Linked DNA regions of Homo sapiens: all the other regions are linked to region 2. Evidence: promoter capture Hi-C in 16 types of primary human blood cells and fetal thymus (Javierre and others, 2016). All regions are on one chromosome and are shown on one strand. Each heading gives the region's core, a stretch centred on a gene start or on the middle of the fragment in contact. The rest is flanking DNA. Distances are from core to core; before and after follow the strand shown. Region 1 has its middle 8.5 kb from the start of ZFPM1. Region 2 holds the start of CDH15 (cadherin 15). Region 3 holds the start of IL17C (interleukin 17C).

The links. Contacts are between HindIII fragments. The CHiCAGO score rates a contact against its expected background, and 5 or more counts as called.
Region 1: a contact is called between a fragment that was not itself captured here and the fragment with the promoter of CDH15 in region 2, in 1 of 17 cell types (total CD4 T cells). The highest score is 7.3, in total CD4 T cells.
Region 3: the fragment with the promoter of IL17C here is called in contact with the fragment with the promoter of CDH15 in region 2 in 1 of 17 cell types (neutrophils); the score reaches 5.1 in neutrophils.

The regions. Positions count from the first base shown.
Region 1 is chr16:88,443,066-88,446,506 of GRCh38, forward strand. No RefSeq gene overlaps it. Among named protein-coding and RNA genes, the nearest start is that of ZFPM1, 8.5 kb to the right of the region's middle. RefSeq lists an enhancer at 58-923. The HindIII fragment of the contact is 6,767 bases long and covers 1-3,441 here.
Region 2 is chr16:89,169,731-89,173,252 of GRCh38, forward strand. It overlaps CDH15 (cadherin 15), which reads left to right and starts at 2,018. Exons shown (of 14, transcript NM_004933.3): 1 at 2,018-2,143. The coding sequence starts at 2,102. RefSeq lists a silencer at 1,454-2,093. The HindIII fragment of the contact is 9,317 bases long and covers 1-3,522 here.
Region 3 is chr16:88,637,172-88,640,474 of GRCh38, forward strand. IL17C (interleukin 17C) reads left to right here and starts at 1,401. Exons shown (of 3, transcript NM_013278.4): 1 at 1,401-1,476; 2 at 1,810-2,138; 3 at 2,643-3,297. The coding sequence starts at 1,471. The coding sequence ends at 2,901. It overlaps LOC124903755 (a long non-coding RNA gene), which reads left to right. Exons shown (of 2, transcript XR_007065181.1): 2 at 1-263. The HindIII fragment of the contact is 4,920 bases long and covers 123-3,303 here.

The DNA.
Region 1 (3,441 bases), core at 537-3,036, 730 kb before region 2:
GCCATGCTCAGGGACTGCCAGGAGTGAGCCCTGCCCCTGTCCACTCACCGCTCCTCCTGTGGGGCCTGAAACCACCGTTTGGCTGGAGACCCAGGATGTGGACGGCCCCCGCCTGGCCACCAGGTGGCAGCATTCGCCCAGCCAGGGGGTCCAGCCTCCACCTGGGCAGGGCGGCCGCCTGCAGCCTCCAGAGGCACCGCACCTGCCGACCCCACACCCACTTGACCTGCAAACCACCCACGTGCACACCCGGCACCTCCACACACTAAAGGGGACAGACAGGCGGGAATCCCTCGACTGCACACGTGCACACAGCACAGCCTCACCCCTGCGGACACCTGGGCATTCAGACGCATGCCCACAGGCACACACGCATGCACGCACGCACGCACACACGCCTACTCGGCCCCCGGGGTGCACTCAGGTGCCTGCCAGTCGCTCACACAGCCACAGGAGAGAGTGCTGCGGAGTCCCTGCAGGGTTCCCTGAAGGACAGGTGTTTGAGCTGGGAGCAGAGGAGCACTGGGCGTGAGCTGTGCAGGCCCTGTGGGGACCCCTGCAGAGGGAGTGGACACTGAGGCCCGGCCCTGTGCACAGCCAGGGTCACTGTCCACACCAGCCCTCCCCCTGGGCACAGTCAGGGTCACCGTCCACACCAACCCTCCCCCTGGGCACAGTCAGGGTCACCGTCCACACCAACCATCCCCCTGGGCACAGTCAGGGTCACCGTCTACACCAACCCTCCCCCTGGGCACAGTCAGGGTCACCGTCTACACCAACCCTCCCCCTGGGCACAGTCAGGGTCACCGTCCACACCAACTCTCCCAACCTGGGGACTCTGTCTCTCCCACCCAGGATTCTGAGGCCCAGTTTGCCCCAAGACTGCAGAGTCCCTCTGTGGCCAGAACCCCCAATGGGCTGCCCTGAAGCAGCAGGGGGAGGCAGGGAGGCTATGAGTATGCAGAGAGCTCCCATAGACAGCGGCGTTATTTCCCATCATCCACGTCTAGATTCCAAGGCCGCTGGGGAAGTGGGGTAGGAGAGAAGTGGGTGCCCTGGGCCAGGCTGAGGAGACAGAGGGGGCAGGCAGCCGTGGAGGAGACGCAGGCAGGGGAGCACATGCCAGGTGCCCTTGGGTCTCAGCCTGTGGGGCGAGGAAGCAGAGGGAGGGTAGGAGGGTGCCAGTGGTGAGTGGCAGGCCTGGCTTCATCCCCACACCCCACCGCACAGAGAGGAGGTATGCAGGGCAGGGTCAGGGGTTCCGCGGGATGGGGGCACACCCTCCTACCCTCCTCAGGGAACAGTTTACCGGGACGGTTTACTGGGAAACTCATTATTGAAAGCAGGCTCTCCTACACGCTCCTACACCTTGAAGCATCTGCTCTCCTGAGAAGATGTGTGGATGGCCAGGTTCACGCAGTGGGGAGAGGGGGATGGAGAGGGCCGGCCCCGGGGAAGGGGCTGTGTCCCAGTGACTTTGGGGCGGCTAATGTGGGGATTCCTTGAAACACCCCAGAGGTGATGGGACTTGGAGGCCCTGGAGCCCATGGGGAGCTCAGTCCTGCCCGTGTCCTCTGTCCACGTGCCACGTATGGGCCACAGAGATGCAGCTGAAGTTGGGGGCTCCAGCCCCAGTGTCTCCCCCTCCCAGCGCAAGGACAACAAGCAGGTCACGCCAGGTTCCAGCTGGGAAGCAGCGGGAGGCAGTTCCCAATTCTGGGTGGATCGCAGCCCCAGGACAGCCACGCTGAGGCCCAGGGGTGTCTGTCTTTCCAGGCCTGCCCTGGCCTGGGTCCCAAGCCCACGGCCCCTTTCCCCAATGCAGTGTCTGTCTCACTGACCAGCCGCGTGGCTGTGAGGAGAGGAGGCAGAGCTGGTCCTCCCCAAGGCCCGGGGCATGGCAGGGAGGTGAACACACTGCCCCTTGGCCTGCACTGCCCGAGAGAACCCCAGGCCTGCTTCTGGGCCCAAGGAGAGGGCAGATGTGTTCTGCCAGCACCAGGAGGTACCCAGGAGCAGCAGAGCACTGAGCTGGGGGCCAGAGGCCTCAGGCTGGTCACCAGCAACCCCCGACCGGGCCTCAGTTCTTCCATCTGTTAAATGGACGAAGTGACCAGCAACATCCTTTCCAGCCCTGGCTCCCAGCAGCTCCCTCTGAGAGCTCAATTCCAGGCAAGGAGCCGCGGTTCCCTGCGCCCGGCTGGATTTCACACTGCAGGCTCAGTTTCCCCTGTCTGTAAAACGGGCTCCATGAGACCTCCCGGGACTGTGGTGAGAAGGAGACGGCGTTTGTGAACTGCTGGCCTCACGCCAGGCAGTGGCGCTCTCTCTGTGAGGAGAGACGCACACGCTGCGGCTGGCGCCTTCCACACTGACCTGGGCCCCTGCGGCGAGGCTTGCGGAGTCAAAGTCATGCGGTGCTTCCTCGCCCCCCAGGGCCTGGCGCGGCTGGGGCCCTGCCCCTCTCCGACTCCGTCTCCCACCCTCTGTCTCGGTCATCTCTGGCTGCATGAAAAGCCACCCCGGCACTCAGTGGCTCGGAACAACAATCGCGTCTTTTGCTCACAAATCTACCATTTGGGCAGGGCTGGGTGGGCACAGCTCGTCTGCTGCCCGAGGCACCTGCTGGGGCTGGCGTCTCCGAGTGAGCTTCCACCCAACATGGTGATTGAGTTCCAACATCGAGGGTCCCGAAAGACGAGACCCAGACGCCGCCGGCCTCTCGAGGGCTGGGCTGGGAGCCGAAGTGGCGTGGCTTCCCGCACATCCTTCCGGCCAAGCAGTCACGGAGCCAAAATCCAAGACGGGGCCTGGGTCTCCCTGCCCGCACGGAGGTGTGTCACAGATCCGGGGGCCATGTTTTAAAACCATCACCGTTGCCCTCTGGCCACAAATTATTTGTATTCCACCCAGATGCAGGGCACACTCACCCCTCCAAAAGTCTCCCCAAAAGTCTCACCGTGTCTCAGCGTCAGGCTCAGGCCCGGGGCCCTGACATTTAGATAGGGCCAGGTGTGGCTGAGGCCATCGAGTCATTCCTCCGGTGAAGTATGCCCGTGCGTCGGGGTGCAGGGCACGGGGTGTAGGACAAATGCTACCAATGCCCCTGTCGGGAACTGGGAGGAGGGTGGCACATGTCCGTCACTGCCACAGGCGGTTCCGAAGCCCGGGCCCTGCCCCGTACAGTGACTGTGCTGTTAGCCCGGCCACCTGGGGCCTGGCTCTGCACTGGCGTGTCCTCTCCTCGAGGCGGCTGAGTCTGCCGTTCGGGGACCTCCCTCGCTCCCCTGCCTGGTGTCCTCTCCTCGAGGCGGCCGAGTCTGCCGTTCAGGGACCTCCCTCGCTCCCCTGCCTGGTGAAGGTCATGGGGTCCCGGGCCTCTTCACCCTCTGTGTTGTCTCCGCCTCCTTCCATCTCATCTCATGGTGCATCCACCAGAGC
Region 2 (3,522 bases), core at 768-3,267:
CCACTGCACAGGACCTCCAGACTCAGGGTACCCAGCCCTTCCCTGCCACCTACCTCTGACACAAGGAGAAACTGAGGCACGGGGGAGAACCTCCAGCCCAAGGCTCCGAGCTGGGACTGGACCCAGGCTCCTGCCTCCTGACCTTCCTGCTGCCCTGGGAGCATGTGGAGCGGGGTCCCTCGCGGGGGCACCTGCCCCTGGGGGATAGCCCGCCAGCCAGGGAGCACACCCTCCCGCAGTGGTTAAGCCGGCTGCTTCCCTGGCCCCGCCCTGCATTTGGGGCTCACCCAGGACCTGGCCCAGCTTAGCCTTTCCCTTAGAGACCCCCACATCCCATGGAGGAGGGATTTGGCCTCCGTTTCTCCCCGAGGTGGGTGGGAGGCAGGTGGCTGAAGCGAGGTGGGTGCAGGGTGGAAGCGGAGAGGAGCTGGGGTTGGCAGACCGCAGCCTCCCCAGACCTCTTTCTGGGGGGAGGGCGAGCACTTCTACCTCACCCCTGCACTAGTCCCGTGAGGATGAAAACCAAAAGCACTCAGAGGGCTTCTCCACCCCTATTTTGAGGTCACTGACCACAGAGGCAGGATGGTGGTCCCCAACAGGCTACACCCCAGCCCCAGAGGCCTCCCAGTCTGGAGATGGACTCCCTGCCCTCTCTCATCTTGGAGCAGTGAGCGCTAGGGACAGTCCTGGCCTGAGCCTCCCGGGCAGCCTGGCCTCCTTTCAAGCAGGCCAAGTGCACAGATGCTGCCTGCACCTGCACAGCCACCCGCCGTCGACAGGAGAGCAGAGGTACCGGGTCTGCTCCCATCACAGAGAGGAACGGGCTCCCCGGCCCGGCCCTGGGCTGGTCGGCAACCCCCACTCCCCACCCTGCCTGCTCAAAAGAAAGGATCCTCCTGCCTCCAGCCCCCTCCACCCCCTCTCCAGGACCTTCCTGACCGTGCGCTGGGCCTGTGCAGGTGTTGAGCCACACCCACACCATCCCAGGGGGCGGGGTCTCGAAGGGGAGAACAGGTGCCACAGTCAACAGGAGGGAGGGCTTCTGGCCGAGGTGGCAAGGAGGCTCCAGGAGGCGGCAGCGTTGACCTTGGGTGTTGAGGGATGATGAGAAGGAGTTCTGTAGGAAGGAAGGTGCTCCAGGCAGGGGGCCTCGGGGAACAAGGGGATGCTGGAGGAGGTGCGTGGACTGGGGGAATTGGGGGTGTCCTACGAGCCACGCTGGTATCAGAGGCGTGTGAACCAGAGCAGTTCCATACTGAATAAGAGCTGGGCAAAATGAGGTCGCGAGGAGGTGCGTGGAAGGCGGGCCTAGCGTTCAGTGGGATGCGGGGAGGCGCAGGAGACGCAGCCAGAGAGGCGAGGGGCCCAAGGAAGTGCTCAAGAGGTGTCCCCCGGCAGGGACTACAATGCAGATTCCCTGGAGCAGGGGCGAGCCGGGCCCAAGGAGCAGGAAATGAAGAAGCCAGGAATCCCAGCTGGTCCCTGACCCGGACGCACCCACCCTGCCTTCCCCACAGCCTGGCCTCTGGCTCTGCTCCCAACGCAGCAAGCCGGGGTATCTCCGACCTAGCCCTGGCCCTGCCCGCCGGAACCCCGCAAAAGCTATCACTCAGCCCTCGGCCCCGCCCCGGCCCCACCCCGGCCCCACCCCGCACTCTCACAAGGTGTCACTCAGCCCTCGGCCCCGCCCCGCCCGCCCCATCCTCCTCTGGCTCCGCCCCACCAGCCTCGTGCGGTCACCGCCCCGCCGGCGCACCTGCGCTGTCACTCAGCCCTCGGCCCCGGCCCCGCCCCGCCTGCCCCACTCGCACACGGGCTATCACTCAGCCTGCGCCCCGCCCTAGCTCGCCAGAGGCTCCGCCCCACCCGCCTGCCAACACGCTGTCACTCAGCCTTAGCCCTGCCCAGGCCGGCCCTCGGCCCGTCAGAGGCCTCCTTCGTGCTGTCACTCAGCCCTTGCCCCGCCCCCTCCCCGCCCCCCTCACACGTGCTGTCTCTGTCTCTGGCCCTGGCCCGCCCCGCGCACTTGCGCTGTCACTCAGCCTGGACGCGCTTCTTCGGGTCGCGGGTGCACTCCGGCCCGGCTCCCGCCTCGGCCCCGATGGACGCCGCGTTCCTCCTCGTCCTCGGGCTGTTGGCCCAGGTAAGGCATCGGCACCTGCGGGGGTCCCCGCTGCCTCCCTCGACGCTGCGGGACAGTGTCTTCAACTGCAGCCGCACAGGTCTCCCCCAGAACCACTGGCCCTGGTCGCCTTTGGGGGCCTGTGAGCGGAGTGGCTCCGGGTGGGTCCCTGGGCTGGGGGCAGCACCCCAGGGGTTGTGGGGAGTGAGTGTAACCAAACACTCCATCTGGTGGAATCACCCCCAGGACTGCAGAGTGCTGCTGGGGTCAGGGACCCCAGGCAGGGGCCACCCAGGTAGCCGTGCCCTCTCTTTGGAGGAACCGCTGCCGGGGTCTGGGGGTTGCCAGTCTTGAGTGGAGCAGAGAGAGGGGGGAGCGGCAGGAGTGCCCCTCTCTGGGGGGCTGGGGGCCAGGTTTCTATAGGGACTCCCTGCGGTGGGCACAGGACCCCTGGCTAGTCTTGGGTTTTGTCCAAACCCCCCACCCCAAGTTCCTGGCCAGCAGGGGTGGCTGCAGGCCCTGCCCCCAGGAACTCACCCTCACGGCTACTTCTCGATTGGGAGGGCCCAGCCCGAGCCAGGTCGCAACACACGGCCTTGCAGAGTGGCGTGTGGCAGCCCTGGGGGCTCTGTTCCTGGGCTTCACCTGGGACCCTGCCGCAGCTGCCTGGGGTGATCAGGCCTGGGGGCCCAGCCCCCAGAGGCTGCTGGACTCTGCCCCTAAAAATCTTGTCTGGACTGCTGGCACCGTGGTCTCTCCAACGTGGGAGCAAGCCAGAGTGGAAGGAAGCCCAGGCCTCAGCCCCCCACACCCGACATGGGTACTGCCTAGCTGGAGCCACGTCTCCTCACACCCTAGGGGGACCTAGACATGGAGGATGTGGCCTCAGTGGCTTCAGCCCCCAGGGACTGGGCTGGGCTGGGGCATGGCCGGCTGTGGTTGGGACGTCACTGGGTACAAGAGGGCAGCCTCTCTCTGGCCAATTCGAGAGAGAATGCACATAAAGGGCTTAGCGGTGCTCACAGTATTCATTGCTCTTGTGGTCCTGGGGTGGTCAGGGAGTGCTGGACACAGTGAGTAAGGGAAGCCACTCCTTTCCCAGCCCCCACTGAAGGGGCTTCCTGAGTCCCCTCATTCCCACAGGCCTCCCAGCTCCAGCTGGCTCCAATTTCAGCCCCTGGCAGCTGACCAGGCGCCTGGCCAGCCAGACCCTCCAGCAGCTGCCCCTGAGGGCACCACGGCTCCTGCCACCCCCGACTCCCCCATCTGGAGACAGTGGTGGGGGGAGACAGTGGCTCAGCATGCGTGCTCACCCCCCGGCCCTCCACCCCTCAGCCCTCTGCCGGGGAGCGCAGGCTGGGGGGCTCCATGCCTCCAGGGCCCTTCCCCACCTGCTCTGG
Region 3 (3,303 bases), core at 151-2,650, 530 kb before region 2:
TTCCCAAGTTCTGGCTGCAGCTGTCCCTTTCCGGGGAAACAAAGGCACCTCCAGCGCCCCCACCCCCAGCCAGCCTCACCGATCAAGGAGGCCAAAGGCAGCTCCCGGCCCCGCTTACATAAAGCTTCCTGTGTGTGCTGGTCACACCTCACACCTCACGCCTCACGCCTCATGCCTCATTCACACCTCACACCTCACTCCTCACACCTCCAACTCAGACTTTTTAGCTTGAACTTTTTTCTCAATAAAACCACAGAAGCCCAGGCCGGGTGCAGTGACTCATGCCTGTGATCCCAGCACTTTGCGAGGCCGAGGTGGGCAGATCACGAGGTCAGGAGATCGAGACCATCCTGGCTAACATGGTGAAACCCCGTCTCTACTAAAAATACAAAAAAATTAGCCAGGTGTGGTGGCGGGCGCCTGTAGTCCCAGCTACCCGGCAGGCTGAGGCAGGAGAATGGCGTGAACCCAGGAAGCTGAGCTTGTAGTGAGCCGAGATCGCACCACTGTACTCCCCGCCTGGGCGACAGAGTCAGACTCCGCCTCAAAAAAACAACAAAAAAAAAAACAACACAGAAACCCAACAGAGACCTGAAGACGTGCCTGCCTCCCCCATCTCCGGGACCTCTCCCACCTGGGTGAAGGGGGCACGTGAGCCTCACCTGATCTTGACCATCTCAGCTAAAACACTGAACCACCCTTGGCACCCACCAGCAGCAGACGGAGAAGAACTGTATAGGGTGCAAAAGCGCCCCGCCACCATCAGGTCCAGATGAAAACCTACAAGTTGAATCAGCAAGGTGCTGACGGATACGCAAGCAGAAACCCTCTTATAGGAGGTTCAAGGCTGGGCGCAGTGGCTCACTCCTGTAATCCCAGCACTTTGGGAGGCCAAGGCGAGCAGATCACTTGAGGTCAGGAGCCTCAGACCAGCCTGGCCGATATGGCAAAACCCTGTCTGTACTAAAAATACAAAAATTAGCCAGGCATGGTGGGGGGTGCCTGTAATCCCAGCTACTCGGAAGCCTGAGGCAGGAGAATCGCTTGAACCTGGGATGTGGAGGTTGCAGTGAGCTGGGACAGCACCATTTCCCTCCAGCTCGGGTGACAGCAAGACCCTGTCTCAAAAAAAAAAAAAAAGTTTGAGAATGTCAGACAAGGCAGCACCCTGTGTAGGTGCTCAGGTTGGGCGGAGTCTCTCTCGGGGGAGGGGGGTAACAGGACAGCGCCTCCCGGGGCCTCCTTGCATGTCTGTGTCCTGATGCACAGCAGGCGGGGGCTGCGGGGACCAGAGAAGGAAGAAGCGCCCCAGCTGGGCACTTCCCGAGGAGGAAGTGGTGCCGGAATTTCCCCCAGGTGTGGCCTCAGGTATAAGAGCGGCTGCTGCCAGGTGCATGGCCAGGTGCACCTGTGGGATTGCCGCCAGGTGTGCAGGCCGCTCCAAGCCCAGCCTGCCCCGCTGCCGCCACCATGACGGTGAGCCTCTCCACATGCCGCTCGGATGGATGCTGCTTGGATGTGCAGCCTGGCATGGAAGGGCTGGGGTTCTCTGAGCCTGGGAGGAGGGTGTTGGGATGGGGTCTGGGAAACCCCTCAGTCTGGGGGTAGGGGAGGCAGCTGCAGATCCTCGGAGCGCTGGCATGCTGGGTGTCTTGGGCTGAAGGGCTAGCCTCTCTGGGCTTCAGTTTCCCCATCTATAGAGGGAGGGCTGTACTCCATCTTTCCGCTGGGAACAAGGAAAGCTGAGGTGGAAGTGAGGTGCCCCCTGCCCTGGGCACCTCCTAACCACCCACCTGCCTGTTTCACCAGCTCCTCCCCGGCCTCCTGTTTCTGACCTGGCTGCACACATGCCTGGCCCACCATGACCCCTCCCTCAGGGGGCACCCCCACAGTCACGGTACCCCACACTGCTACTCGGCTGAGGAACTGCCCCTCGGCCAGGCCCCCCCACACCTGCTGGCTCGAGGTGCCAAGTGGGGGCAGGCTTTGCCTGTAGCCCTGGTGTCCAGCCTGGAGGCAGCAAGCCACAGGGGGAGGCACGAGAGGCCCTCAGCTACGACCCAGTGCCCGGTGCTGCGGCCGGAGGAGGTGTTGGAGGCAGACACCCACCAGCGCTCCATCTCACCCTGGAGATACCGGTGAGGACCTGGGGATTCCGCTGTGGCGTGGGGCTGCCCCTCCCCTGGCGGGGCCCTGACTGCCCGGAGAGCTCTCTGGGCCTTGGTGGTTCTCACCTGTCAAGTGGGCGTGGCCACCTGAGCTCCCTCCCTCCGGCCCTCCTGACCTGGACGGCTGAGCTGCTGCTTGCGGCTGGCCGTGCCCTGCCTCCCACTGTCCTAGGTGGCCAGGGTCCCCTGGGGAAATTCTGGGCCCGTCACCTGAGCTCCTGCAGAAGTGGGGCTGGGTGATGAAGTGGAAGGGAGGCTCCTAGAGGCCTCCGGACCCTGCTCTGTGCTCTTGGAGGGCCCTGGGGAGACGTGGATTACCACCACATGTGAGCCCGACTGCACCCCAAGCCCGTGTGGCTCAGCCCTCGCTGCCTCAGGTCCTATCCTGAGTACACGGAGAGGGGCCCTGAGGGGAGAGGGGCCTCCAGGAGGACAGGGTAGGGCCAGAGACTCACTGTGCACCCCGTCCCGCAGTGTGGACACGGATGAGGACCGCTATCCACAGAAGCTGGCCTTCGCCGAGTGCCTGTGCAGAGGCTGTATCGATGCACGGACGGGCCGCGAGACAGCTGCGCTCAACTCCGTGCGGCTGCTCCAGAGCCTGCTGGTGCTGCGCCGCCGGCCCTGCTCCCGCGACGGCTCGGGGCTCCCCACACCTGGGGCCTTTGCCTTCCACACCGAGTTCATCCACGTCCCCGTCGGCTGCACCTGCGTGCTGCCCCGTTCAGTGTGACCGCCGAGGCCGTGGGGCCCCTAGACTGGACACGTGTGCTCCCCAGAGGGCACCCCCTATTTATGTGTATTTATTGTTATTTATATGCCTCCCCCAACACTACCCTTGGGGTCTGGGCATTCCCCGTGTCTGGAGGACAGCCCCCCACTGTTCTCCTCATCTCCAGCCTCAGTAGTTGGGGGTAGAAGGAGCTCAGCACCTCTTCCAGCCCTTAAAGCTGCAGAAAAGGTGTCACACGGCTGCCTGTACCTTGGCTCCCTGTCCTGCTCCCGGCTTCCCTTACCCTATCACTGGCCTCAGGCCCCCGCAGGCTGCCTCTTCCCAACCTCCTTGGAAGTACCCCTGTTTCTTAAACAATTATTTAAGTGTACGTGTATTATTAAACTGATGAACACATCCCCA